Regions from separate parts of the Homo sapiens genome. Here all the other regions are linked to region 1. Evidence: promoter capture Hi-C in 16 types of primary human blood cells and fetal thymus (Javierre and others, 2016). All regions are on one chromosome and are shown on one strand. The core of a region is centred on a gene start or on the middle of the fragment in contact, and the rest is flanking DNA. Distances in the headings are between cores, read along the strand shown.

What was found. Contacts are between HindIII fragments. The CHiCAGO score rates a contact against its expected background, and 5 or more counts as called.
Region 2: a contact is called between a fragment that was not itself captured here and the fragment with the promoter of C1QTNF2 in region 1, in 1 of 17 cell types (neutrophils). The highest score is 5.5, in neutrophils.
Region 3: a contact is called between a fragment that was not itself captured here and the fragment with the promoter of C1QTNF2 in region 1, in 3 of 17 cell types (megakaryocytes, endothelial precursors and M0 macrophages). The highest score is 6.8, in megakaryocytes.
Region 4: a fragment that was not itself captured here is called in contact with the fragment with the promoter of C1QTNF2 in region 1 in 12 of 17 cell types (M2 macrophages, neutrophils, endothelial precursors and 9 more); the score reaches 11.3 in M2 macrophages.
Region 5: a contact is called between a fragment that was not itself captured here and the fragment with the promoter of C1QTNF2 in region 1, in 8 of 17 cell types (erythroblasts, megakaryocytes, M2 macrophages and 5 more). The highest score is 9.1, in erythroblasts.

The regions. Positions count from the first base shown.
Region 1 is chr5:160,369,303-160,371,971 of GRCh38, forward strand. C1QTNF2 (C1q and TNF related 2) reads right to left here and starts at 1,324. Exons shown (of 3, transcript NM_031908.6): 1 at 1,210-1,324. The HindIII fragment of the contact is 8,188 bases long and covers 1-2,664 here.
Region 2 is chr5:159,996,050-159,998,718 of GRCh38, forward strand. No RefSeq gene overlaps it. Among named protein-coding and RNA genes, the nearest start is that of TTC1, 12 kb to the right of the region's middle. The HindIII fragment of the contact is 3,133 bases long and covers 1-2,669 here.
Region 3 is chr5:160,014,832-160,017,500 of GRCh38, forward strand. All of the region lies in intron 2 of TTC1 (tetratricopeptide repeat domain 1), which reads left to right. LOC124901124 (a long non-coding RNA gene) reads left to right here. Exons shown (of 2, transcript XR_007059025.1): 1 at 1-2,669. Among named protein-coding and RNA genes, the nearest start is that of TTC1, 7.0 kb to the left of the region's middle. The HindIII fragment of the contact is 1,843 bases long and covers 375-2,217 here.
Region 4 is chr5:160,031,054-160,033,722 of GRCh38, forward strand. The region is part of intron 2 of TTC1 (tetratricopeptide repeat domain 1); the gene reads left to right. Among named protein-coding and RNA genes, the nearest start is that of TTC1, 23 kb to the left of the region's middle. The HindIII fragment of the contact is 3,077 bases long and covers 1-2,669 here.
Region 5 is chr5:160,047,335-160,050,003 of GRCh38, forward strand. TTC1 (tetratricopeptide repeat domain 1) reads left to right here. Exons shown (of 8, transcript NM_003314.3): 6 at 2,180-2,328. It also overlaps a transcript of PWWP2A not described here. Among named protein-coding and RNA genes, the nearest start is that of TTC1, 40 kb to the left of the region's middle. The HindIII fragment of the contact is 2,049 bases long and covers 270-2,318 here.

The DNA of each region.
Region 1 (2,669 bases), core at 74-2,573:
AAGTGTGGTATCCCTGCTAGGAGATGGGGAGAAGTCAGACATTTGGGAGGAAACAAATTCTGCAGTGAATCTGATGTGTTACAATGAAGGGCTGTAGTGATGCTTGGAAATGTGTGGAGAGTTTGAGGATCGGGCAGTTGAAAGCAGGAGTAATTGATATAATTACTCCAGATGACAGAATAAATTAGAGAATGGTGCAGAGGGAGGGCAAAAATAAGGATGTGAGAGGACAGATTTTTAACAGTGCTAACTGAGCACCAGCCTTGGATTGACCTATGTAAGACATTGTCTTTCTATTACTGCTACTTCAGCATGGTGGAAACACAGGGTCTCTGAGAGATGGCCAGTCTAAGGAAGGGACCTCTGCAGGCTTCCAAGCAGGGCAATTTTGTGGTCAAGGAGCAGAGGAGGATCACAATGAGGTAATGCAAGGGACTCATGGTGTCAGAGGAGAGACCTGGGCTGGGAGACTATTAGGGCCCACTGCAATTATTTAGCTGAAAAGCGAGGTCCTAGAATGGGGCAGCAGCAGTGGGGATGGAGAAATAAGGACAAAGCATATTAAGACAAGTAGTTTAGGTGGGGAAGGAGAGTGAAGAGAGTCATGAGGCATTGAGTACAAATCTCTGCCTGCCGTTCAATACCTTTTGAGCTCAGTTTGCCAGTCTGTATCATATATTTAAATAAATGTGAAGGTTAAGTGAAATAATGCATTCAGTAAATGTTAACTGTGATTGTTAGCTCGGGTATTGGACTCAGATTTACCAGACTTCAAGTCCCTTTTTTATCAATTACTAGCTGTGCAACCCTGTCCAAGTCATTAATGTCTCTGAGCCCAGTTCCTCTTTTGTAGACGGGGATAATCTGTTGTCATGAAAATGAAAGAGCACAAGTAAAGTGCTAGCAGGACTTGGCACAAAGTAGGCGCTCAATAAATGGCAGAGCTACGGGTGTTACTATTGTAACGGGTAAACCACTGGGCACAGAGCCTGGCACACAGTAAGGACTCAAAACATGTTAATTTGTATTATAATACGAAGGTAGAAGTCGAGAGGCAGGAATGCAGGAGCTGCCCAGCCCGCAATAAAGGCGCGCTGGCAGCTCTCCCACCTTCCGCATCCCGCCCCGCCCGCAGCAGTGCGAGTCCTCCTCCTCCTCCTCCCCGCGCGCACTTGCCGCCCCCGCCCGACCGCGGTGCGGGACACTCACCCTCGCGGCTGCCCGCCACGTCCAGGGGCGTCCGGAGCAAAGAAGCTCTCGGCGGGGCTCCGCGTCCCGGCTTTCCTCAGCGGCAGCAGCCGGGCAGAGCGTCGGCCCCAGGCATAGTTTTCCCATCCCGTCATGGGCGGGAGAGCCTTCCTCCCGGTCACGTGGGCTGGCCCGCAGCGCAGCATTCTCTTTTTAGCAGCTGTTTGGAAAAAACTTGCAGTGCTGATGACAACTCGGGTGTGTCGATGCATCTCTGCGTTTGTAGAGCTTGTTAGCGTATTTGGAGGTTTTGTGCGCCAGAGTGATCAGAGTGATTGTTTCCCACGCGTTTGCAAAGGTGTGCATGTACTTGAGTGTGATGATAAATCATAGGGATGTGTTTAGTTGTGTGTGTGCGTACGTGCGTTTATCCAAATTTTCATCAGGGCTGTTCGGTGTATGTACACATGCATGCACATGTCCAAGATGGCAGCTTGGTGTAAAACTGGAGGGCACATCAGTGGTTGGATGTACACGATAGTGGCTAGACATCTGTATGTGGGGTGCATGTTTAAATGTGTGTGTGACTGTGCAGGGGCTCATTCTGTGTGTTGGTTTGACATCTGTATGTGGGGTGTATGTTTAAATGTGTGTATGACTGTGCAGTGGCTCATTCTATGTGTTGATTTCTATGCATGCCTTGGTGTGGATTTTGTCCGGATGTGAGTGTGCACATACACACTAGTGTGGGTGAGTTCCCCTGTGTACCAGCTCTCATTTCTCTTCTCCCCAGAAGGTGAGGATTCACTGGTCTCACTCACTCTGGCCCAGCCTCAAGTCATTGAGAGACTTATGGAGGGTCTCAGCTCCCAGGATAGGCAAAGCAATCCTATTTGGGAATCAAGCAGGCACTGGAGGAAAGGAAATCCTCCAAGGCCTGGCTTTTGCTTCTCCCTGTTCCTTCCACTGCTCTCTTCCACTAGCTACCCATATTTCACTCTGCACAGCCAGAGCATCTGGTTAACAGCTGGTAAGTGACACAAAATTTACAGTCAGAATTTTAATACAGATATGCATTTGAATTCTAATGTTGTATCCACCACCTTAATCAAGTCAGATAATCTCACAGATGGTGTTTTATTTTCTAAAAAAAATGGGAGAATAATATTACCTGCACTGCCTTTACCCCAAAGTTGGGACACTAACTCATAAAGATGTTTGGTAAGCCATTGAACTATGTAGGGAATTATTACTAATATCACATAAATACTATTTGAGAAAGAAAGTTTGTAGGCTTAACAAACATTCATTCAACAAATATTTAATAAGCATCCATTGTGTGTCAGTCCCCAAGCAAGGTGCTGGGGACATAGAGGGAAACAAATAGGCTTGATGCCTACCCTCATGAAACTTAGAGTCCTCCAGCTGGGGATGACACAAGTGGTTACAAGTGAAATGAGTGTTATAGAAAAGAAAAGCTT
Region 2 (2,669 bases), core at 97-2,596, 370 kb before region 1:
CATTTTCATAAACTGTTCCTCTCCCTGGGACATGGTAAGTATTTCCTCAGGCTGACTTTGAGGCAGTGGACCAAAGCTGCAGCTGGAGAAAGCGGGCTGGGGTTGGGGAGGGCTTAATGGGATTTTGAGTCTGTGTGAGTGATTTTTAAGCTGTGAGTCAATTTGGTAGAAAGAGCACTGAACTGCAATCCACTGAAACAGTAATAATAATAATAGCTGCTTTTTGCTGTGCCAGGCACTGCCTAAGTCCTCTGTATCTTCTAATCCTCACCAAAAAACCTTAAATGAAGGACTTAGGGCTCAGAGAGAGTAAGTCACCCAGCCAGGAAGAGCTGTGTATCAGTTAGGGGAGTGAGTTTGGCTGCACATAACAGAACACACATAACAGTGGCTTGAACAAATCAAAAAGGGCTGTTTGTTTATTTTTTCTCTCATATGAGAAGTCTGGAAGTAGGCAGTCTGGGGACAGTGGGGATAGTATGGCAAATCCACACTGTCAGGAGAGGCCCATGGCCCTTCTAGTGTTTCCCTACTCTGTCCTTAAAATGTGGCCATAATGTCCCTCTTCCAGGCAGGAAGAAATATGGCAAAGACAAAAGGCACATACAGGGCCAGGTGTGGTGGCTTATACCTGCAATCCCAGCCACTCAGGAGACCAAGGTGGGAGGGTTGCTTGAGCCCAGGAGTTTGAGACCAGCCTGGACTGCATAGCAAGATCCCCTCTACAAAGAAATTTAAAAACAAAAAATTATCCAGGCATGGTGGTACGCCCCTATAGTCCCAGCTACTCAGGAGACTGAGGCAAGAGGATCACTTGAGCCCAGGAGCTGCAGGTTGCTGTGAACTATGATTGCACCACTGCACTGCAGGCTGGGCAACAGAGTGGGACTCTGTCTATAAAAACAAACAAACTGGCCAGGTGTGGTGGCTCATGCCTGTAATCCCAGCACTTTGGGAGGCTGAGGCCAGTGGATCACCTGAGGTCAGAAGTTCGAGACCAGCCTGGCAACATGGTGAAACCCTGTCTCTACGAAAAATACAAAAATCAGCCGGGCATGGTAACGGGTGCCTGTAATCCCAGCTACTTGGGAGGCTGAGGCAGGAGAATCGCTTGAACCCAGGAGGCGGAGGTTGCAGTGAGCCAAGATCGTGCCACTGCAATCCAGCCTGGGTGACAAAGTGAGACTGTCTAAAAACAAACAAACAAACATTCTCCTCCAGTGTGGCAAAAAGAATTTTTGAAATCAAATAAAAACAAACAAAAAGACACATACAGCTGAGTTTGCCCTCTGTTACAGAGATTTCCAGAAAGTCTCATCTCTCTGCTTCTACTGTGTTGTGTGGCCAGTTTTCTACAAATGCCTATTGTGTCACTGGTACTGTGCTAAGATTTTACATATATTGTTACATTTATTCCTCATAACAGCCTTATAGAGAAGGAATTACCAACCTCTGGGTTCTAGTTTATTCCCTGCTATGTGGCTAAAATGTCTTAGATAAATCACATTCCCTCTCTGGACCTCATTTGTTCATCTGCTTTATGAGGGATTGGACTAGATAAGGAGTTCCTAACTTGAGATCTACAAACCCCTAAAGGGACAATGGATAAAATTTAGAGGGAAGGGTCATGACTTTAGATAGGGGGAAAATTACATTCTTATCTTCACTAACTTTTTTTTTTTTTTGAGACAGAGTCTTGCACTGTCACCCAGGCTGGAGTGCAGTGGCCCAATCTCGGCTCACTGCAACCTCTGCCTCCCAGTTTTAAGCAATTCTCCTGCCTCAGCCTCCCAAGTAGCCAGGATTACAGATGACCACCACCCCGCCTGGCTAATTTTTGTATTTTCAGTAGAGATGGGGTTTCACCATGTTGGCCGGGCTGGCCTCAAACTCCCGACCTCAGGTGATCCTCCTGCCTCGGCCTCCCAAAGTGCTAGGATTACAGGCGTAAGCCACCGCGCCTGGCCTCTAACTTTTAACTGAAATTTAGTTTTTCCTTCTTTTATGAACTTAGCCAATAGAACATAGTAATATTAGCAGAGCTTTTGACTTTATCACCAAAAGAATATCAGATATTTCATAGCATATTACAGTTGTTTCAGATGACTTGAAATATTGAATATACTCATCACTACTTCAAAATTGTGGTAGTTATTACACCTGCTATACTTAATGTGTTAATAAAAAGGAGTGTGTGTGTAGACAAACAGAATATGTAGATACGTAGATATATATATCTTGCTAATTTTATTGTTAGTATTATAGGAACTGTATTTCAATATAATTTATTTCCTTCATATTCCAGTATATTTTGTTTTATGCATTTAAAAAAATTTCTCTGAGAAGCGATCCAGAGGCTTCAGCAGCCCACCAAAGGAGTTCATAGAACAAATGAGATGAAGAACTGGACAGAGATCTCTTTGTCCCTCCGGCTATAAATATAACTCTGTCATAAGCTATCGTGGTCTTCCTGATCAAGTCCTTTCAGCTCTCAATTTCCTCAGTTTCTCTTCGGTAAAATGGAAGTAATACTTGCTTTGTCTAGCTCAGAGCTGTTAGGGGAACCAAAGTAATCTTCATGTAAGCACACACGAATGCAGAGCTTACGCATTTTCAATTACACAGGATCGGCTTCTGTAGTGCTGAGTGAATGTTGAGTCTTACTATAT
Region 3 (2,669 bases), core at 46-2,545, 350 kb before region 1:
TGTATATACATAGATGTGTTGCAGCATCATTCATAATTTTGGAAAGCTAGACAATGTTAAACAGGGTATTTGTAGTATAGTAAATTTATTTGGTCTTTGTCCCTGGTTCCTGTTACAGAGCCACTAGAACCCTTGGAATTTTCTGATAGTGTAGTGTATTTTTTTGTTATTCTTAATGTACCCCTTTTGATAACACCTGAGTTCATCCTAATGAGATAACTTTTAGGATCTGGCCTATCTATAGCCTAAGGAAGGATGGGGCCAGTCACCAAAAAGACTAAGTGATTAGAGTTTTAGAGGGTTGGAACTTTTGGCACCACCTACCAAAATCCAGGAAAGGAGGAGGGCAAGTGCTGGAGATTAAGCTCCATTAAAGCTTTTTTCTTCTTGTGTTTTGAGCCAAGTCTCGCTCTGTTGCCCAGGCTGGAGTGCAGAGGTGCGATCATAGTTCACTGGAGGCTTCAACCTCCTGGGCTCAAGCAATCCTCCTACATCAATGTCCCAAGTGGCTGGGACCACAGGCGCCTTCCACCACACCTTGCTAAATTTTTTTGTGTTTGAAATGAAGTCTTACTATGTTGCCCAGGCTGGTCTCGAACTCCTGGACTCAAGCAATATTCCCATCTCAGCTTCCCACAGTGCTAGGATTACAGGTGTGAGCTGCTGCGCCTGGCCTATAAAAACTCTTGAACTAGAAATCTGATGAGCTTCCAGGTTGATGAGCACATGGAAGTGTTAAGAGGGTAGCACCCAGAGAGGGCGTGGCAGCTCTGCACCCCTTCTCCCTCTACCTTTCCCTGTGTGTCTCTTCACCTGGCTGTTCTATATCATTCATAATGTCCTTTGTAATAAACTACTAAGTGTAAGTAAAGTGTTTCCCAGAGTTCTGTGAGCCATTCTAGCAAATTATTGAACCCACAGAGAGGGTGGTAAGAACCCTGTGCTAACCATTCAGTCGGAATCATAGGTCACAACCTGGGACTTGTGATTAGTGTCTGAAGTGGGGCCAGGCTTATGAGACTAAACTCTTAACCTGTGGGATCAGACACTGTCTACCTGGAGATAGTGACAGAACTGAATTGAATTATAGGACACTCCGTTGGTGTCCATTGGAGAATTGTTTAGTGTGGAAAACACTCTCATCTGGTGTCAGACCTATTGGGAGGGTATAGTAGGAGAGAAAAATGTGTTCTTCCCAGAGTATTACTTAAATTTTGTTGTTATATTTATGTAGTATACAATGCAGTTGTTAAAGGTAAATCTTGGCCGGGTGCAGTGGCTCATGCCTATAATCCCAGCACTTTGGGAGGCCAAGGTGGGCAGACCACTCAAGACCAGGAATTCAAGACCAGCCTGGCCAACATGGTGAAACCCCATCTCTACTAAAAATACAAAAATTAGCCAGGTATGGCGGTGCACACCTATAGTCCCAGCTACTTAGAAGGCTGAGGCACGAGAATTGCTTGAACCTAGGAGGCGGAGGTTGCAGAGAGCCGAGATCACGCCACTGCACTCCAGCCTGGGTGACAGAATGAGACTCTGTCTCAATAAATAAATAAATAATTTAAAAAATTTTTTTAAAAAGATGAATCGTAGGTATTGACCTGGGAAGCTGCCTGTAATATAATGTCAAATTAATTAATCAGGTTATACAACAGTGATGATTTCTTTTAAGGCTATGTGAAAATATGTTTATACATACAAATTTGAAGGATATACACCAAAGTATAAGCAGTAAGTAACTTTGAGAGGTATGATTATTAGGGAATTTTAATTTATATGTAATGCAATTTTGTAATATTTGCTTTTTTTTTCAGTAAGCCTGTATTACATTATTCCATTTTAAGAATATAAATAAATAAAAATTGATTACTTTACAACCAAACTGTGTGCCCTACCACAAAAGCACATGAAGCTGACCCCTGATGATTTGGGAAAGAAGTGCTATTCCGTACAGGGTCTATGTAGTATTAAAGGTTTCTTGTTGGACACAACCAAATAATAGTAGCCAAAGTCTGTTAATCAAGCTAACTTCACTTGTCCTGTGGCTGGGAAGATAATTCACGCTCAAGTGTAGTGTCACTTCTCAGCAGGACTCATAAATCAAGAATAATTGAGGAGGAAAGCAGTTAAGATTTGGTAAAAACAGGAAAAGCTCTCAGAGAGTATAGTGTATTCGTGTGTTTATTTCAGCAGTAAATCTTAACTATTTGTGAAAGCTTAAATGTAGATATAACTACCCACAGGAATGGAATTTTAGCTAACATTTGAGATGTACTAGGTATGTGAAGCAAATAACTGGTTCTGAGAGGCTTGGCTAAGGTGAAGGACAAATGTAGCAGCAGAAGAGAATTGCAATAATAACATTATGATACAAAAATTCTATCTTAGTGTGTTGGAGCTGCTATAACAAAATACCTTAGACTGGATAACTTATAAATAATAGAAATTTATTGCTCATAATTCTGGAGGCTGAGAAGTCCAAGATCAAGGTGCCAGCAATTTTAGTGTCTGGTGAGGGCCTCTTCCTTACAGATGGCACCATTTGTGTCCCTACATGGCAGCAGGGGCAGGGCAGCTCCCTTCAACCTCTTTTATTAGGACACTAATCCATTCATGAGGTTGGAACCCTTATGACTTAATCACATCCCAAAAGGACGCACCTCTTA
Region 4 (2,669 bases), core at 107-2,606, 340 kb before region 1:
TTTGGAGAAAGAATGTATTCAGCAGAAAAAAACTCCAGTCTTTGTACTGGGATCATCAATTCAGTCTCGGCACAGCTGGGAAATAGTTCAACTTTCTCCTCAAAGTGCTATTTTTAGCTGTTTCCAAGGAGATGTTCAGCATGATACTGATAATTGCATTACTCTTAATTTGCACAATCTGTGGAGAGGGAAGCAGCAGTTCTTTTTCAATGTTTACTACTCAGTGGGCCACTGGGTTGTGATTTATCCGTTGAAACAATAGGATGCCTCACTTAGAATAATTGACCTTAGCTCACACCTGTAATCCCAGAACTTTGGGAGGCCAAGGCAGGTGAATCACTTGAGGCCTGGAGTTCAAGACCAGCCTGGGTAACATGGCAAAACCCCCATCTCTACTAAAAATACAAAAAATTAGCCAGGTGTGGTGGTGCATGCCTGTAAACACAGCTACTCGGGAGGCTGAGGCACAAGAATCACTTGAATCTGGGAGGCAGAGGTTGCAGTGAGCCAAGATCATGCCACTGCACTCCAGACTGGGTGATGGAGTGAGACTCTGTCTCAAAAAAAATAAATAAATAAATAAAAAATAACCTCAGAATTACATTCTGGAGCCTTTCGCTTTGCTACCTCAACTTTCAGTCCTTCAAGTTATAAAGGCAAGATGAGGGCTGGGCACACTGGCTCACACCTATAATCCCAACACACTAGGAGGCTGAGATGAGAAGACTGCTTGAGCCCAGGAGTTCAAGACCAACCTGGCCAACACAGTAAGACCCCATCTCTACTAAAAACAGAAAGAAATTACCTAGGGGCAGTGGTGCTTGCTTATAGTCCCCGCTACTCAAAAGGATTGCTTGAGTCCAGGAGTTCAAGTTTACAGTAAACTCTTATGGTGCCACTGCACTCCAGCCTGGGCAACAGAAGGAGACCTTGTCTCTGAAAATAAAAATAAAGACATGGTAAGTATTTCTCGAGCTGGCTGCTCAGGCCGGCCCGTAGCACTGATTCCTTTCTGTATACTTGAGACGTGGTTTTGCCCATTGGGAACTTGATGTTATAAATTTCCCAAAGAATGATTGGTCTCCTAAAACATGAACACACATACACACGCTTACTTCACAAGAGCCTAATCCGGCAATCTGATTGATTCATCTGTGTTCATAGAATATTCCTAATGAGTTGGCTCTGAAGAGAAGATTATAGATCAGAAAATAGCTTAAGATTTACAGTCAATGCTAAAGAAATTGAAAACTCTTAAAGAGTGGGCATTAAGATCTAGTAACTTGATGATTTAACCCCTCTCTAAAGAATTTGTTTCTTAAATAACTGTTAACTGAATTTGTTATGTTGTCTTGGCTCTCCAACATCCAACACCCCTTCCTATTTGGAGGAATTCTCTTGTGTTGTGATCTTGTTGAGTGGCAGTACCCCATGTCTCTCACTTCATCCTCTGATAACCAAGGCTTGTGATCGATGCTTGGTATATTAGATGCTTCTGACCAAGATCTTAAATCTAGATTGAGTGAAGCAAAGACAATGGAATGGTTAGAGTTGATTTGCTGTCATTGCAGCCCTGTCCTGGCAAGTCTTTCACTAAAAGACATGCATTCTGCTTCTTAACAGAGCCTCCTTGAGTTCTACCTGCTTTCTTTTTTTTTTTTTTTTTTTTTTTTTTTTTTGAGACGGAGTCTCACTCTGTCGCCAGGCTAGAGTGCAGTGGCGCGGCCTTGACTCACTCCAGCCTCCGCCTCCCAGGTTCGAGTGATTCTCCTGCCTCAGACTCCTGAGTAGCTGGGACTACAGGCGCCTGCCACCACACCCAGCTAATTTTTTTTTTTGGGGGGGTATTTTTAGTAGAGACAGGGTTTCACTATGTCGGCCAGGATGGTCTCAATCTCTTGACCTCATGATCTGCCTGCCTCAGCCTCCCAAAGTGCTGGGATTACAGGCGTGAGCCACCACGCCCAGCCAAGTTCTACCTGCTTTCTAAGCCTATTCGTTAAGCCTCTCACTGATTCTGTGAGCACTGATACCTTGCCAGTAAACCTGCCCCCTAAAGTTTTTTGCTTAAGATAGTCTTTTGCTTGCATCCAGTAACCCTAATCAATACAGTAGAGATCATTACAATCTAAGCATCTTTCTTATGGGTAGTACTAGGTAAATATGGCCATATTCTTATATTTTATTTTTTTCTGAATTCCTTTAGAATAGCCCTTCCCTCAGATACGTTATATCTTAAAATGAATTGTTATTTGTACCTGCTGTGTGTCTGGCACATAGTATGTACCATAAAAATTAGATTCACTCTATACTTACCTTTTAGTTTCCTCACTGAGATTCATCAAGTGCTCTGTTTAATCCATAGTGTAATAATAAGACATTTGGGAAATACCCGGTCTCATCAATAGCATATTGACAAATCTTTTCCAGAGAAAGAATGTTTTTATTTTGGTTCCTGTATTAATCCATTTTCACACTGCTATTAAGAATTGCCTGAGAGTGGGTGATTTATAAACAAAAGAGGTTGAATTGACTCACAGTTCCACATGGCTATAGAGGCCTCAGGAAACTTAACAATCATGGCGGAAAGTGAAGAGAAAGCTGATGGTTTTAAAGTGTGGCACTTGAAAACCATCAGTTCTCATGAAAGTGAACTCACTATCATGAGA
Region 5 (2,669 bases), core at 44-2,543, 320 kb before region 1:
CTTTGGAGTCATCCCTGATTGTTCTTTCGTGTCACATGGCTAATTGATTAATTAGCAAGTTCCATGGGCTCAAATTTAAAGACATATTTAATGTAATCCGGCTGCTGTTTTCCATCTCTACTACTTCCAGCTTAGACCAAGCCAACATCTTCTCTCATCTGGACCACTGCATTAGCTTTCCAGCTGATCTCACAGCTTTCAGTCTTGCCCCACCCGCCAACACTACAGCCAAAGCAGTCCTTCAAAAATGTAAATCAGAGTATGTCTGAAGCTTGCTTGAAAACTTTCCAGTGGCTTCTCATCACACTGAGGAAAAAGTCCAAACTCCTTTCCCTGGCCAGGAAGGTCCTCCATGGCCCTACATTTCAGCCTCTGATCCCCAGCCTGATAACTCACATGCCAGAGTTATTCTTGTTGGTCCCTCTTCCTGGCACGCTCCTCCTTAGCCTTTCACATGGCTGGCCTCTCTCACATAGTCCCTCTTCATATTCTGAGACCACTTTCTGAAGTTACCTCATTTCTCGCTTCACTTGTATTTCCATGACCTTGTTTTATTTTTCATTATAGTACTATGGCTATTGAAATTATATACCTGTCTGTTCTTGCCTACTAGAATAGCATAAGGCTTCATGAGAACAAGGACTGTGTCTGTCTTGTTTCCCACTATAGCCCAGAGACATACTACATTGGACGTATATATTAAGTACTAAATAAATGTTCACAGAAAGCATGAATTTAAAAATTAAGGATAGATTATGAGAAAAGAAAAAAGTTCTAGAGCCAAGACATTGCTTTTTTTTTTTTTTTTTTTTTTTTTTTTTTTTTTTTGGGACAGAGTATTATCTCTCTGTTGCCCGGGCTGGAGTACAGTGATGCAATCGCCACTCACTGCACGCAACCTCCGCCTCCTGGGTTCAAGTGATTCTTATGCCTAAACCACCCAAATAGCTGGGATTATAGACCCACACTGCCACGCCCAGCTAATTTTTGTATTTTTAGTAGTGATGGGGTTTCGCCATGTTGGCTAGGCTGACGGTCTCAAAGTCCTGACCCCAATTGACCTGCCTGCCTCGGCCTCCCAAAGTGCTGGGATTATGGGCCTGAGCCACCACACCCGGCCAGCACTGCTTTCTAATAGAAAAAGAAACAACTTGGAAGAAATTAGAAGAAATGCAGTATGTTGAACCAAAACATAGCAAAGGATTATTAGAAGGGCAGCTGATGCTGGATAAAGGAAAAGATATTATGCATCAACCACCTCATAGTGCTGGAGCAGTAGTTTGAGGGTTGAAGGAACAGTGAGGATTTAACTAGAAATATAATCTTAGTACTCAAGACCTAGAAAAAAGAGAATGATAGTCTGCCACCAGATTGGTTTCCCTTAACTCTTTAATTTGTATCTTCAAATTCTCTCTCACCTAGCCTGGCCAACATAATGAAACCCCATCTCTACTAAAAATACAAAAATTAGCCGGGCATGGTGGCGCATGCCTGTAATCCCAGCTACGTGGGAGGCTGAGGTAGGAGAATCGCTTGAACCTGGGAGGAGGTGGTTGTAGTGAGCCAAGATCACACCACTGCACTCCAGCCTGGGTGACAGAGCGAGACTCCGTCTAAAAAAAAAAAATTCTCTCTCACTCTTTCACTGCGCACTTGAACTCTGTTCTGGCCTGTCCTGGACTGGGTAAATGACAAGTAGGCAAAAACCAGGACTTGGAGTATAGACCAGGATATGGCAAACTACAGCCACAAGCCAAATCCAGCCTGCCACCTGTTTTTGATAGCCTAAAAGCTAAGAATGGTTTTTACAGTTTTAAATCATTGGAAAGCAAAATATTTCATGATAATGTGAAAATTATGTGAACTTAAATTTTAGTGTCCATAAATAGTTTATTGGAACACACCTATCCTTTTTTGTTTACATATTATCTGTGCCTGCTCTCGTGCTACAATAGTATCATTGAGGAGCTGCGACACAGATGGTCTGTCTGACCCACAAAGCCTACAATCTTTACTATCTTGCTCTTTATAGAAAAAGTTTTCCAGCATCAGGTATACACTTGGCAAATGACTCTTCCTTTCGTATCCTTGGAGGATGATTGATGAAGGAATCTGATATAGCCAAAGATATGTAGGCCATTTTTCTTTGTGATAAAAATTATTTCTTCTCTTTTTACAGCAATTCAATTAAACCCCAGCTATATCAGGGCAATATTGAGGAGAGCAGAGTTGTATGAGAAGACGGACAAGCTAGATGAAGCCCTGGAAGACTATAAATCTATATTAGAAAAAGATCCATCAATACATCAAGCAAGAGAAGCTTGTATGGTAAAACCTAAAATTTTAAAAATATTTTTCCTTCTATTCTTTGTGTTGCTACCCAGTGAGTCCTAAATAATCCTTTCAGACACAATTAAATTCCATTTCTGTGCTTTTGAGGAGCTTATCAAGATATATGGGAGGCCAGGCGCAGTGGCTCTTGCCTGTAATCCCAGCACTTTAGGAGGCCAAGGAGGAGAGATCACTTGAGGCCAGGAGCTCGAGACCAGCCTGGCCAACACAACAAAACCCCATCTCTTCTAAAAATACAAAAAATTAGCCGGGTGTGGTCGTACACATCTGTAATCCTAGCTACTCGGGAGGCAGGAGAATTGCTTGAACCCAGAAGG